Linked DNA regions of Homo sapiens: regions 1, 2 and 3 are each linked to region 4. The links are contacts of gene promoters, found by promoter capture Hi-C in blood cells and fetal thymus (Javierre and others, 2016). All regions are on one chromosome and are shown on one strand. The core of a region is centred on a gene start or on the middle of the fragment in contact, and the rest is flanking DNA. Distances in the headings are between cores, read along the strand shown. Region 1 has its middle 16 kb from the start of CCDC125. Region 2 overlaps RAD17 (RAD17 checkpoint clamp loader component). Region 3 overlaps MARVELD2 (MARVEL domain containing 2). Region 4 holds the start of CENPH (centromere protein H).

Region 1 (2,700 bases), core at 176-2,675, 160 kb before region 4:
ACTGCTCTCTCTTGGCTAAGTAATCAGGGTACATTGCCTTCTCAGAAGGATTCCAGTCATCTAAGCACCACTCCAGAGACTTGTAGCATATCACTCGTATCTCTCATAGGAAGTACCCCCAGAGAGTCAGGGAAGAGAATGGCTGTGAATGCTGACGATACCAGAATTCCTCTGCCTCCCTCAGCAGTGGGGTAGCCTCCATCATACCCTTTTTTTTTTTCCTATGCTCTTCAAACCAGGCTCTCATCAAACAGGCAAAATATACCATTATTTATCTCTGGATGCACCATGGCTTGAGGTGGTACAGCGCCTGGTTACAAAGCAGCAACACCTTCTGGTGATAGGTCAAGTAGGCCCTCCAGCATCGAGAACACCATGACTGCTTGATCCCATCTTTTTTTTTTTTTGAGACGGAGTCTTGCTCTGTCGCCCAGGCTGGAGTGCAGTGGTGCAATCTCGGCTCACTGCAAGCTCCACCTCCCGAGTTCACGCCATTCTCCTGTCTCAGTCTCCCAAGTAGCTGGGACTACAGGCGCCTGCCACCACGCCCGGCTAATTTTTGTATTTTTAGTAGAGACGGGGTTTCACCATGTCAGGCAGGATGGTCTCGATCTCCTGACCTCGTGATCTGCCCACCTTGGCCTCCCAGAGTGCTGGGATTAGAGGCGTGAGCCACCGCGCCTGGCCTTTTTTTTTTTTTTTTTTTTTTTTTTTTTGAGGCAGTCTCACTCTTGTTGCCCAGGCTGGAGTGCAATGGCGTGATCTCAGCTCACTGCAGGTTCAAGGGTTCAACCTCCACCTCCCAGGTTCAAGCGATTCTCTTGCCTCAATCTCCCAAGTAGCTGGGATTACAGGCATGCACCACCATACCCGGCTGATTTTGTATTTTTAGTAAAGACAGAGTTTCTCCCTCGAACTCCCAACCTCAGGTAATCTGCCCGCCTCAGCCTCCCAAAGTGCTGGGATTGCAGGCGTGAGCCACCTTGCCTGGCAACTCCCATCTTTTTTATTATAACTATACTAGTGGGTGAGTAGTATATCACATTTTGGTTTTGATTTACATTTCTCTAATGATTTATGATGAGCATCTTTTCATGTGCCTATTGGTTTATCTTCTTTGGATCCCTCATCTTTTTAATGTTTGCATAAAATGGCATTAATGAGGCTAGGCCCAGTGGCTCATGCCTGTAATCCCAACACTTTGGGAGGCCGAGGTGGGTGGATCACCTGAGGTCAGGAGTTTGAGACCAGCCTAACCAACATGGTGAATCCTTGTTTCTACTAAAATACAAAAATTAGCCGGGCGTGGTGGTGGGTGCCTGTAATCTCAGCTACTTGAGAGGCTGAGGCAGGAGAATCGCTTGAACCGAGGAGGTGGAGGTTGCAATGAGCCGAGATTGCACCATTGCACTCCATCCTGGGCAATAAGAGTGAAACTCCCATCTCAAAAAAAAAAAAAAAAAAAAAAAGCCATTAATGATATGCCAAGTACCCAGGCACTGTGGCTCACACTTGTAATCCTAGGACTTTGGGAGGCCAAGGCGGGCGGATGACTTAAGCCCAGGAGTTTGAGACCAACCTGGCCGACATGGTGAAACACTGTTCCTAAAAATAAATAAATAAATTAATTAATTAAGTAAATAGGCCAGGCCGGGCGCGGAGGCTCACGCCTGTAATCCCAGCACTTTGGGAGGTCGAGGCAGGCAGATCACGAAGTCAGGAGATTGAGACCATCCTGGCTAACACGGTGAAACCCCGTCTCTACTAAAAATACAAAAAATTAGCCAGGCGTGATGGCAGGCACCTGTAGTCCCAGCTACTCGGGAGGCTGAGGCAGGAGAATGGCATGAACCCGGGAGGCAGAGCTTGCAGTGAGCCGAGATAGTGCCTCTGCACTCCAGGCTGGGCCACACTCTGTCGCAAAAAAAAAAAAAATAGGTCAGGCATGGTGGCTCACTCCTGTAATCTCAGCACTTTGGGAGGCCTAGGTGGGAGGATCACTTGAGCTCAGAAGTTCGAGACCAGCCTGGGCAACATAGTGAGACCTCGTCTCTATTTAAAAAAAAGAAAAAAGAGGCTGGGCATAGTGGCTCATGCCTGTAATCCCAGCACTTTAGGAGGCCAAGGCAGGTGGATCACTTGAGATTAGGAGTTCGAGACCAGCCTGGCCAACATGGTGAAATCTCGTCTCTACCAAAAATACAAAAACTAGCCAGGCATGGTGGTGCATGCCTGTAATCCCAGCTACTCCGGAGGCCGAGGCAGGAGAATCGCTTTAACTCAGGCAGCGGAGGTTGGAGTGAGCTCAGATTGTGCCACTGCATTCCAGCCTGGGCAACAGAGTGAGACACTGTCTCCAAAAAAATGAATAAATAAATAAAAATAAAATAATAGCCCAGAGTGGTGGCATGCACCTATAGTCCCAGCTACTCAGGAGGCTGACGCAGGAGGATCACCTGAGCCTGAGGAGGTCGAGGCTGCAGTGAGCTGTGATTGAGCCACTGCACTCCATCCTGGGCGGACAGAGTGAGAACTTGTCTCAAAAAAAAAGACATGCCAAGTTTGATTTAATCAGTCCTCTCACTAATGGACATTTAGGCTGTTTCCAGCTTTTTACTATTACAATGATGCAAGAATAATAAAGAGTAAATATATTACTATGACATAAACTTCTAAACACATTTCAAAAGTGAATTCTTT
Region 2 (2,853 bases), core at 215-2,714, 200 kb before region 4:
TTCATTATAAACACTGAGTTGGTTACATTAACTTTAGCATAGTTATGAAGAAAAGTCACATAAAATAATGTCAGGCAATTAGGGATAAAAGTAAACTTTCTTTTCTTAATTCTAAGGAAATACTATAAACATAAACATTTTAAGTCAAATGGTCTTACATTCCAGTCACCACTGAGGATATCTGCAAAACTCAGAAATTCACTGGCTCTCACAATATCATCAATTTCCATGAAGAAATCTATGTAGTTTTGGTGAAGATATAAATTAAATAAGTCTCCAGGCATGTGTGACATTTCTACTACCTCCTATAAAAAGAAGCATATATACATAAATTTGGTAAAAATGCAATGGTCAAATATATATGCACACGAATAATATATCCTTTGTAACCTATACTAAGTGTCATCAAAGAACTTACCTCAGGTTCAACAAGTAATGTATCCCGTTCATATTCTGATAAATGAGAGGGCAACCGAGGTGAGTCTAATTCTGTTAAAGATGCTCCTATAAAAAATTTCTGGAATTATTAAAGATAATACCTTCTTTATAATTATATAGCACCTCTCATTTGAAGAGTTTGAAAATTTTAGACATACAATACCAACATAGTAACAAACTGTTAAAAAATAATAAATAAATAAAAAACAACTGGAAGCAAGCACCTATTTTTTCCACATTAGCAAGAACTAAATTAACAATTCTGATGCTTAGATTATGGCTTCTCTAGACTTAAAATATTCCATTTCCTAATGCACTCCCATTTCACCTTTTTCAGCTTTGGGTTGCTTTCTTCCCTTGATTTCTCATCTCAATACAGTGGTCTTTACTCTTTTATTTACTATGTAGGAAGATGTTGCTCTCTACATGAAAGAATACGAATTCCATTCACTAATGCAAGAGACGATAAACGTATGTTGGGGAGGAAAAGAAAGGAGAGAAAGAAAAGAATCAGGTGGGAATAGTCACTCAGGTTCAAAGTAAGAGGATCCAGTGACAGAGGAGTGTCCTCACTGCCACCTAAGTGATGCCCATTTTCCTCAGATGGTATGAAGGTTTCCATTTAGAAATCCTAATTTCTTTCCTTTAGGGTCATCAGACTGAAAACAGGCATTTGCTATCAAAAGGAGGGATTATTTGGGACACTAAAATGGGCAATAGGGAGTGAAAGAACTGAGGGGGAGCAGTCATCAAAAAAGACAGAAAAGGCGATAAACATCTCTGGTTGGGGAGACAGAACGCTTGTAAATTAGAGAAATACAAGACGATTGAAAGAAACCTTAAACTACCTGGTAATTTGTATAAGGCTCTGTTGGCTGGAGCCCAGTGTTAAGAGGGCTTTAGGCTACCAACACTTGCCACTACAAGTCTAGATGATCTGCTCTCTTACCTTCAGCAAACTATAATTTTAAAGATTTACACACATGGATATGGCCTGCAATTGCATGTTTTTACTTTTAATCCTGCTTACGGTCAGAAAATATTCTGATTTCCTACTATGTCTTAGGCCTAGGCAAACAGTATCTGACCTAGCTCTAACTCTTAGAGCAGAACCAAAATACATGACATTTTTTTAAAAGTGACATTTTATTTCCATTTTAAGACTATGTGATATCCAACAGATTTTAAAAGTGTAAAAATTTCTTACTTTTACAATATAGAATTTTCCCCAAAGCTCTGAAGAGAAACAGAGAAACATCTTTGCCACCAATAGCTTGGACCTCTTGATTTTCAAAAACCCTATCAGGTTTTTTTCTTCGTTTTGATTTTGACAGCACAGCATCTGATTTTAAAGACATTCCTTTTTTCCTTGGCCGTAAGTTGTTTTCTCCTGAATAATATACATCCAAGTGACAATATTTAAATTAAAATATGAAAATTAAAACTAAGAACACTTCAGATATAGTTACACTAAATATTCTAATTACAATTTGTTTTCCTAATAAACAAAAATTATAAATGACATTAACTGAGTTGGAATCCTCTTTGGGTTACTAACATTAAAATGGAATAAAGTATTATCTGAAAGTTATTTCATAATGCAGATTTCAAACTTTCACATGCACAATAGCACAATCTCTAATATAGGCTGACATTCCTGATCCAAAAAATTCAAACTCCAAAATACTCCAAAATATGAAACTTGCAGTGCCAACATGATGCTCAAAGGAAATGCTCATTGGAGCACTTTGTATTTCAGATTTTCAGACAAGGGATTTTCAATTCGTATAATGCAAATATTCCAAAATCTTAAAAAAATCTGCAATCCTTCTATTCCCAAAAATTGCAAATAAAGGATATTCAACCTGTACAGTCACATCGCCTTGGTTTCTCATCGTGTTATGTGCAAGATACTGTTCTTGGCATGTAATACATAGGAATTTAATCTTCATAACAACCCTGTGAAGGGAGAATTTTTTTTTTTTTTTTTTGAGATGGAGTCTCGCTCTGTTGCCCAGGCTGGAGTGCAGTGGTGTGATCTCGGCTCACCACAACCTCTGCCTCCTGGGTTCAAGCGATTCTCCTGCCTCAGCCTCCCGAGCAGCTAGAATTACAGGTGTATGCCCGGCTAAATTTTTGTATTTTTAGCAGAGATGAGGTTTCACCATGTTGGCCAGGCTGGTCACAACCTCCCAACCACACAAATTGGCCTCCCCAAGTGCTGGGATTACAGGCATGAGCCACCATGCCCGGCCTTTTTTTTTTTTTGACACAGGGTCTGGCTCTATCACCCAGGCTGGAGTACAGTGGCACAATCATAGCTCACTGAAGCCTCAACCTCCAGGCTCAAGTGATCCTCCCACCTCAGCCTCTCAAGTAGCCGGGACTACATGCACCACCATGCTGGCTATATAT
Region 3 (2,700 bases), core at 48-2,547, 230 kb before region 4:
GAAATCTTCACAATTTATGTTCAGAGACTGCAGTAAAGACAGGCATAAGAAATTATAAAAGTATTAATTTGGGGAATTAATAAATGTCCATGAAATCTTCACAATTTATGTTCTTCTGCCATGGCTTCAGCTGGTCCCTCTGTTTGGGGTCCCTGACTTCCCGCAACAGTGCCACTGCACTCTGGCAACAGAGTGAGACTCTGTCTCAAAAAAAAAAAAAAAAAGAAAGAAAAGAAAATTAAAAAAACCAAAAAACGGGCCAGGCATGGTGGCTCACACCTGTAATCCCAGCACTTTGGGATGCCAAGGCAGGTGGATTGCTTGAGTCCAGGAGTTTGAGACCAGCCTGGACAACATGGCAAATACTCATCTCTAAAGAAAAAAAAAATTAAAAAAATTTTAAAACCAAAGCGCTATTTGTTGCTATGCATCAGATTCAAGCAAAAGATTAAAAACAAAATACATATGTCAGTGTGTGCTGTTATAAGGACAGGATTTAATTTTTATTTATAGTTTTGCCCAATATATACCATGTGCAATTGTATAGTATCTAAGAAGTCTTAGGAAAAGTGGAAAAGCAAAAATTCATAATATAGTTAACTTAAAATTACAAAAAATTTTAAGGTAAATACTGAAAATTTCAGTGGCATAGGAGAGTCTACTATACACATATCCTTGGAAGAAGGCAAAATATCAACTTACTTCAGAGAATAATGTAGCCAGTGGAACATACTCTAACATTTGCTACTGTTCAACCAAAATAATTTTAGGTAGGGCTTTTATCTCATCCTTCAGTTATTATTATTTTATTCTTCTTATTGTTCTCATTATTATTTATTCTCATTATTATCCTATTAAGTTCTAGAAATATAAAAACAATGTAGGACTTCCATTCTCATTTTGGACCATACGTCTTCCTCAAATAAAGACAAATTATCAAAACCACTGGGCAAGTTTTCAGAGTATGTTCATTACAATTCAATCTCTCAATACTTAAAAAAAATCAAACATGGTTTACCACATTCTTATTTGGCTTTATTCAACTCACTGGGAGAAAGTAAATTGTAACATTTAAATGAAAAATTAGGAGCTTTTATTAAAGAATTAAGATTGTTCTCAAACTTAATGATGAGACACTTATTTTACTGAGTACACTCTTCTTCTTTGCAAAAATTCGGTAGCTGTATCTTTCCCTTAAGCTTCAGACAGACATAATAATGCAGCCAACAAACTATATATTACACATCTGGTGTCTACTTGCAATGTTATGTAACAGCCAAACACCAGAGTGGGTTATCCCAGTCAAAGCATGTCAGATATTGCACTAGGACTTTTGAATCTCAGACCATTGAAAAAAAAAAAAAGGAAGAAAGAAAAGATTTCTATGAAAGCTTTCTGTTTTGAGCGCTATACATTTTTTAACAAGGGAGCAAATAACAGAAAAAACAAACATACACACACAAATGAGGGATTATGAAATCACTTACCTCCTGTTGTTCCATATATTCTCTATGTCTCCGAGCTGCCTCATGCCTCCATAACTTTAGGCAAACCAAAGCACTAATGAGATAAACTATCATGGTGACAAACAGGAAGATCATTGCAGCTATCTGTCCTCCTTCTACCCGGCAGAACACTGCATTCACTGGTGTATTAAATAACGGATAGTAGCAGAGGCCACCTCGGTTGGTATCATTCACATAGACTATGGCTGCGGCCATATACAAAATAAACAAGGCAACGTTAATTCCAAATTCAGTTAGGGGCCACCAATTAGAGTCCAGAAGAATGGTCCGGTAATACATGGACATGCCAAGAACCAGAATAATAATGGTGGTGATCCAAGCTAATCCAGCAACCACGAGTACAAAAGGGGTCTTAGGGCCAGTGTAGTAATAGCCCCCATACATACTGCCCAATCCACCAACGCCTCCCATGCCATACGGTTGTGAATATCCAAACAAGTTGTACCACTCACTGTCCTTGTGAATGTAAGCTGTGACACAAGCAAAGACACCGGCCCCCAAAAGCAGCTCCACCACACCCAGTATTCTCAGCAGGCCTGCCCACGACTTCATGTAGGAGTATCTCAGGTTATACTCCTCCACCTTCTCACTGTATGTTCGAACTGTTTGTGTGTGTCGGTCTAGAGATCCATAGGGATCCCGGGGAAACACTGCGTCAGCCTCTTTCCGGGAACTAAAGGTTCCTTCTGACCCTCCGTAGGGATCTTTGCAGGAGTTGAGGGGCGAACGGTGGTTTGGTCTTGCTGGAGAGGCTGGTGGTGAACACTCCACTCCATCGGAGATGTACCTGATATCAGACACCGGCTTATCCCATTCGGGGTCCTTTTTCTTCCCTCTGAAAAAGTTCTTCCAGGAGTCAGGGACAAAGCGCCTTACTGGTTTGAGATCTGGCGCTATAGCTGGTTCTTCTGTGTCACTTGAGTAGAAGTCTGGGCCGAATGGTGGCTGTAATGGGAGAGGGGGTGGTGGCAAGGGATCAGCGCTCACTGCCCGCTCACTGTCATGAAGAGTTGGGTGGGTTCTTATGGTGGTATCTTGATAGGGCAGGTCGCTTGGGACCTCATCGTAGCGCCTGTCCCGATTCCTGGATCTTCCATCATTTGACATTTGTGATTTTCACACCTGTGGCCAAATTTAAAGTTATCACTTATGATTAGTTACTTATCCTCTCAAT
Region 4 (2,878 bases), core at 248-2,747:
TAATTCATATAGTTTTTCAGTTGTTCTATAAATCCAAAAATCATACATAAGTAGAAAAACTATGAGCAAATGGTAATTTAAGATGACAGCAAGGGTGAGGAGGAAAAAACAATAAAAAAGAAATAGACATCTTTTCATTTTTCAAAACATTTAAGAAAGAAAAAAATGGTAATTAATTTTTTTTTTTTGAGTCAAGAGTCTTGCTCTATTGCCCAGGCTGGAGTGCAATGGCACAATCTTCTGCTCACTGCAACCTCTGCCTCCCGGGTTCAATCAATTCTCTTGCCTCAGCCTCCTGAGTAGCTGGGATTACAGGCGCCCGCCACCACGCCCAGCTAATTTTTGTATTTTTAGTAGAGACGGGGTTTCACCATGTTGGCCATGGTTGGCCAGGCTGGTCTTGAACTCCTGACTTAAGGTGATCCGTCTGCCTCGGCATCCCAAAGTGTTGGGATTACAGGCGTGAGCCACCGCGCTCAGCCAATAATGATTTTTTTAAAACTACCTCTGTTATGATATAGAACAGAGGACCGCAAATTTTTTTCTGTAAAGGACCTGATAGTAAATTTTTTAGGGTTTGTGAGTCACACGGTCTCTGTTTTAGCTACTCAATTCCACCCTTGTGGCAGGAAAGTTGTACTCCAATAAAACTGTTTATGGAAACTGAAACTTGAATTTCTAATAGAGTTCACGTGTTATGAAATATTTTTATGATCTTTTCCCTGCAACACTTAAACATAAAAACTATTCTTAGCTTGAGTGGTCACACAAAAATAGGCAGTTAGGCAGATTTGGCCCAGGACCTTCTCCTGCTCACTAGTTTAGAAGACGAATGTCCCTTCTCATCGAATCTTCCCCAGCAACCGCTTAGTGGAAAAGTATAAACACCGTCCGCTTAGTAGAATTTATAACATATAAAGCTTCTGGGTTACAAAGGGTCGTAGTTCTAAAAGAAATGGTAGGGGCACCTTCCTTCCAGTTTAGCTCTGGCATTCAATTTGTCTGTAAACCAGAGAGGTAGGGGGAGGGCGGGGAAACAGGAGGAGAAATTACAGCTTCTAAGGGCCCGGGGCACTGTGCTCAACACTTTCCTAGACTATCTCATTTAACCCTTGTAACCTCTCTCCAGGGGGTCATTTTTCTCTCCTTTTCGCTGATGAAGAAAGAGCTTCAACAGTTTAAGTGAATGAGGCAATCACGGAGACCTGACGTGACCGAGCGTGAATTCGAACCCTAGCCCTTCTGAGCAAGGGCGGAGTTCCGGGCCACAACGCCCACTTGGCCCCGGCTGAGGAGGCCAAAGGGAACAACCTGAGGAGCAGGGTCATGCGGTCCTCGCTGCACGCCGCCTGGGCGCCGGCGACCTGCGGTGGCCCGCCTGCCCGGCCTTCCCCTCCGGAGTCCGCGGGCTCGTCGGCGTCTTGCATCTGGGGCTGCTCCTCCATTGCTGGTTGAGGGGAAAGGCTACCACTCAACAGGCAAACGCGCTCAGAAAAGGTCGCTTTTCCCGCCACTAAATGGACGCCGGGAAAAGGCCCGAGGGCCCCGCCCCTTCCGCCCAGGGCCCCACCCTTTCCGCCTTGTTTTTCGGTTGCCGTGGTTACTACGGGCTCCTCTTTCATCCGGGCTCTACTGGTGAAAATAACTGCAGACGGCTGGTAAAAAGTTGGAATAGCTTTCGTTAAGCGTCGGATGTGTAGAGTGCTGAGTTAGGGGCTGGACTAGAGACGTTGGGACATCTCCCGGGAACAGCAGCCTGGAGGGGAAAAATCTCCTGACCTAAGTGGTCATTCGGCCTTGGCGCTTGGACACGGGAGTGCGGCGACAGCCATATGTCCATCCATCTTGGCACTTTTCCGTCCTCTGCCTTTGAAGATGGGTGTGCCCGGCAGGCTGTGAAAGATAAACATTAGAGGGTTGTTTAGAAGACTTTTTTGACCTGAGCCCATGAGGTGCATACCCTTTGTTTGGCGGAGAAACCAGTGGCTTCTGAAGATCAGGGACGGGCCACAAGTGCGAGGCATTGCAGACATTTCGAACCCAGACTTCCAGCCTGGAGACATCCACACGCTTCCAGTTTCTTGCACTGGTACTTCATTCTGTCATTATGATTGCCACCACTCGTAACTGAGAGTTGCGTGCCCTCAAGTTTTGAGTGTCTGCAGGGTACCTTTGAGCTTTCTTAGCTGTGTAGTGAGTGGGGGGAATGGAGAAAATGAAGGACAGATGACTGATTTGTAGTTTTTCATTTGGACACTGTCCTTGCCGCACAAGCACAGCAGCTTGAACCTCTTTGAACAAGAGTCGAGAGTTCTTTTACAGCTAATTACCCACTAGTTAAACTTGATCATACTGTGCTGTTTTCTTCCTCTCCATTGTCAATGTAATACGGCTCCTGACAAAAGTTAAATTCGCTGGGCGTGGTGGCTCACCCCTGTACTCCCAGCACTTTGGGGGCTGAGGCGGGTGGATCACCTGAAGTCAGGAATTCAAGACCAGCCTGGCCAACATGGTGAAACCCCGTCTCTACTAAAAATACAAAAGTTAGCTGCGTGTGGTGGCGGGCGCCTGTAATCCCAGCTACTCAGGAGGCTGAGGCAGGAGAATCGTTTGAACCCGGGGGGGCGGAGGTTGCAGTGAGCTGAGATCGCGCCACTGCACTTCAGCCTGGGTGACAGAGTGAAACTCCGTCTCAAAAAAAAAAAAAAAAGCCGGGCGCTGTGGCTCACACCTATAATCCCAGCACTTTGGGAAGCCGAGGGGGGAGGATCTCGAGGTCAGGAGTTGGAGACCAGCCTGACCAACATGGAGAAACCTCGTCTCTACTAAAAATACAAAATTAGCCAGGCGTGGTGGTGGGCACCTGTAATCCCAGCTA

Evidence for each region. The method cuts DNA at HindIII sites, captures the fragments that hold promoters and counts their contacts. A CHiCAGO score of 5 or more calls a contact.
Region 1: a contact is called between a fragment that was not itself captured here and the fragment with the promoter of CENPH in region 4, in 17 of 17 cell types (neutrophils, erythroblasts, total B cells and 14 more). The highest score is 27.5, in neutrophils.
Region 2: a contact is called between a fragment that was not itself captured here and the fragment with the promoter of CENPH in region 4, in 13 of 17 cell types (neutrophils, erythroblasts, total CD4 T cells and 10 more). The highest score is 12.7, in neutrophils.
Region 3: a fragment that was not itself captured here is called in contact with the fragment with the promoter of CENPH in region 4 in 8 of 17 cell types (erythroblasts, activated CD4 T cells, fetal thymus and 5 more); the score reaches 10.1 in erythroblasts.

The regions. Positions count from the first base shown.
Region 1 is chr5:69,347,612-69,350,311 of GRCh38, reverse strand. It overlaps the pseudogene NDUFB9P1. Among named protein-coding and RNA genes, the nearest start is that of CCDC125, 16 kb to the right of the region's middle. The HindIII fragment of the contact is 3,012 bases long and covers 1-2,700 here.
Region 2 is chr5:69,390,806-69,393,658 of GRCh38, reverse strand. RAD17 (RAD17 checkpoint clamp loader component) reads right to left here. Exons shown (of 19, transcript NM_133338.3): 13 at 1,646-1,828; 14 at 419-504; 15 at 159-305. Among named protein-coding and RNA genes, the nearest start is that of RAD17, 22 kb to the right of the region's middle. The HindIII fragment of the contact is 2,925 bases long and covers 2-2,853 here.
Region 3 is chr5:69,419,319-69,422,018 of GRCh38, reverse strand. It overlaps MARVELD2 (MARVEL domain containing 2), which reads right to left. Exons shown (of 7, transcript NM_001038603.3): 2 at 1,488-2,648. The coding sequence starts at 2,633. Among named protein-coding and RNA genes, the nearest start is that of MARVELD2, 5.6 kb to the right of the region's middle. The HindIII fragment of the contact is 192 bases long and covers 1,202-1,393 here.
Region 4 is chr5:69,188,202-69,191,079 of GRCh38, reverse strand. It overlaps CENPH (centromere protein H), which reads right to left and starts at 1,497. Exons shown (of 9, transcript NM_022909.4): 1 at 1,312-1,497. The coding sequence starts at 1,445. LOC112267932 (a long non-coding RNA gene) reads left to right here and starts at 1,603. Exons shown (of 2, transcript XR_002956215.2): 1 at 1,603-2,089. RefSeq lists a silencer at 1,446-1,565 and enhancers at 1,424-1,718, 1,646-1,885. The HindIII fragment of the contact is 12,435 bases long and covers 923-2,878 here.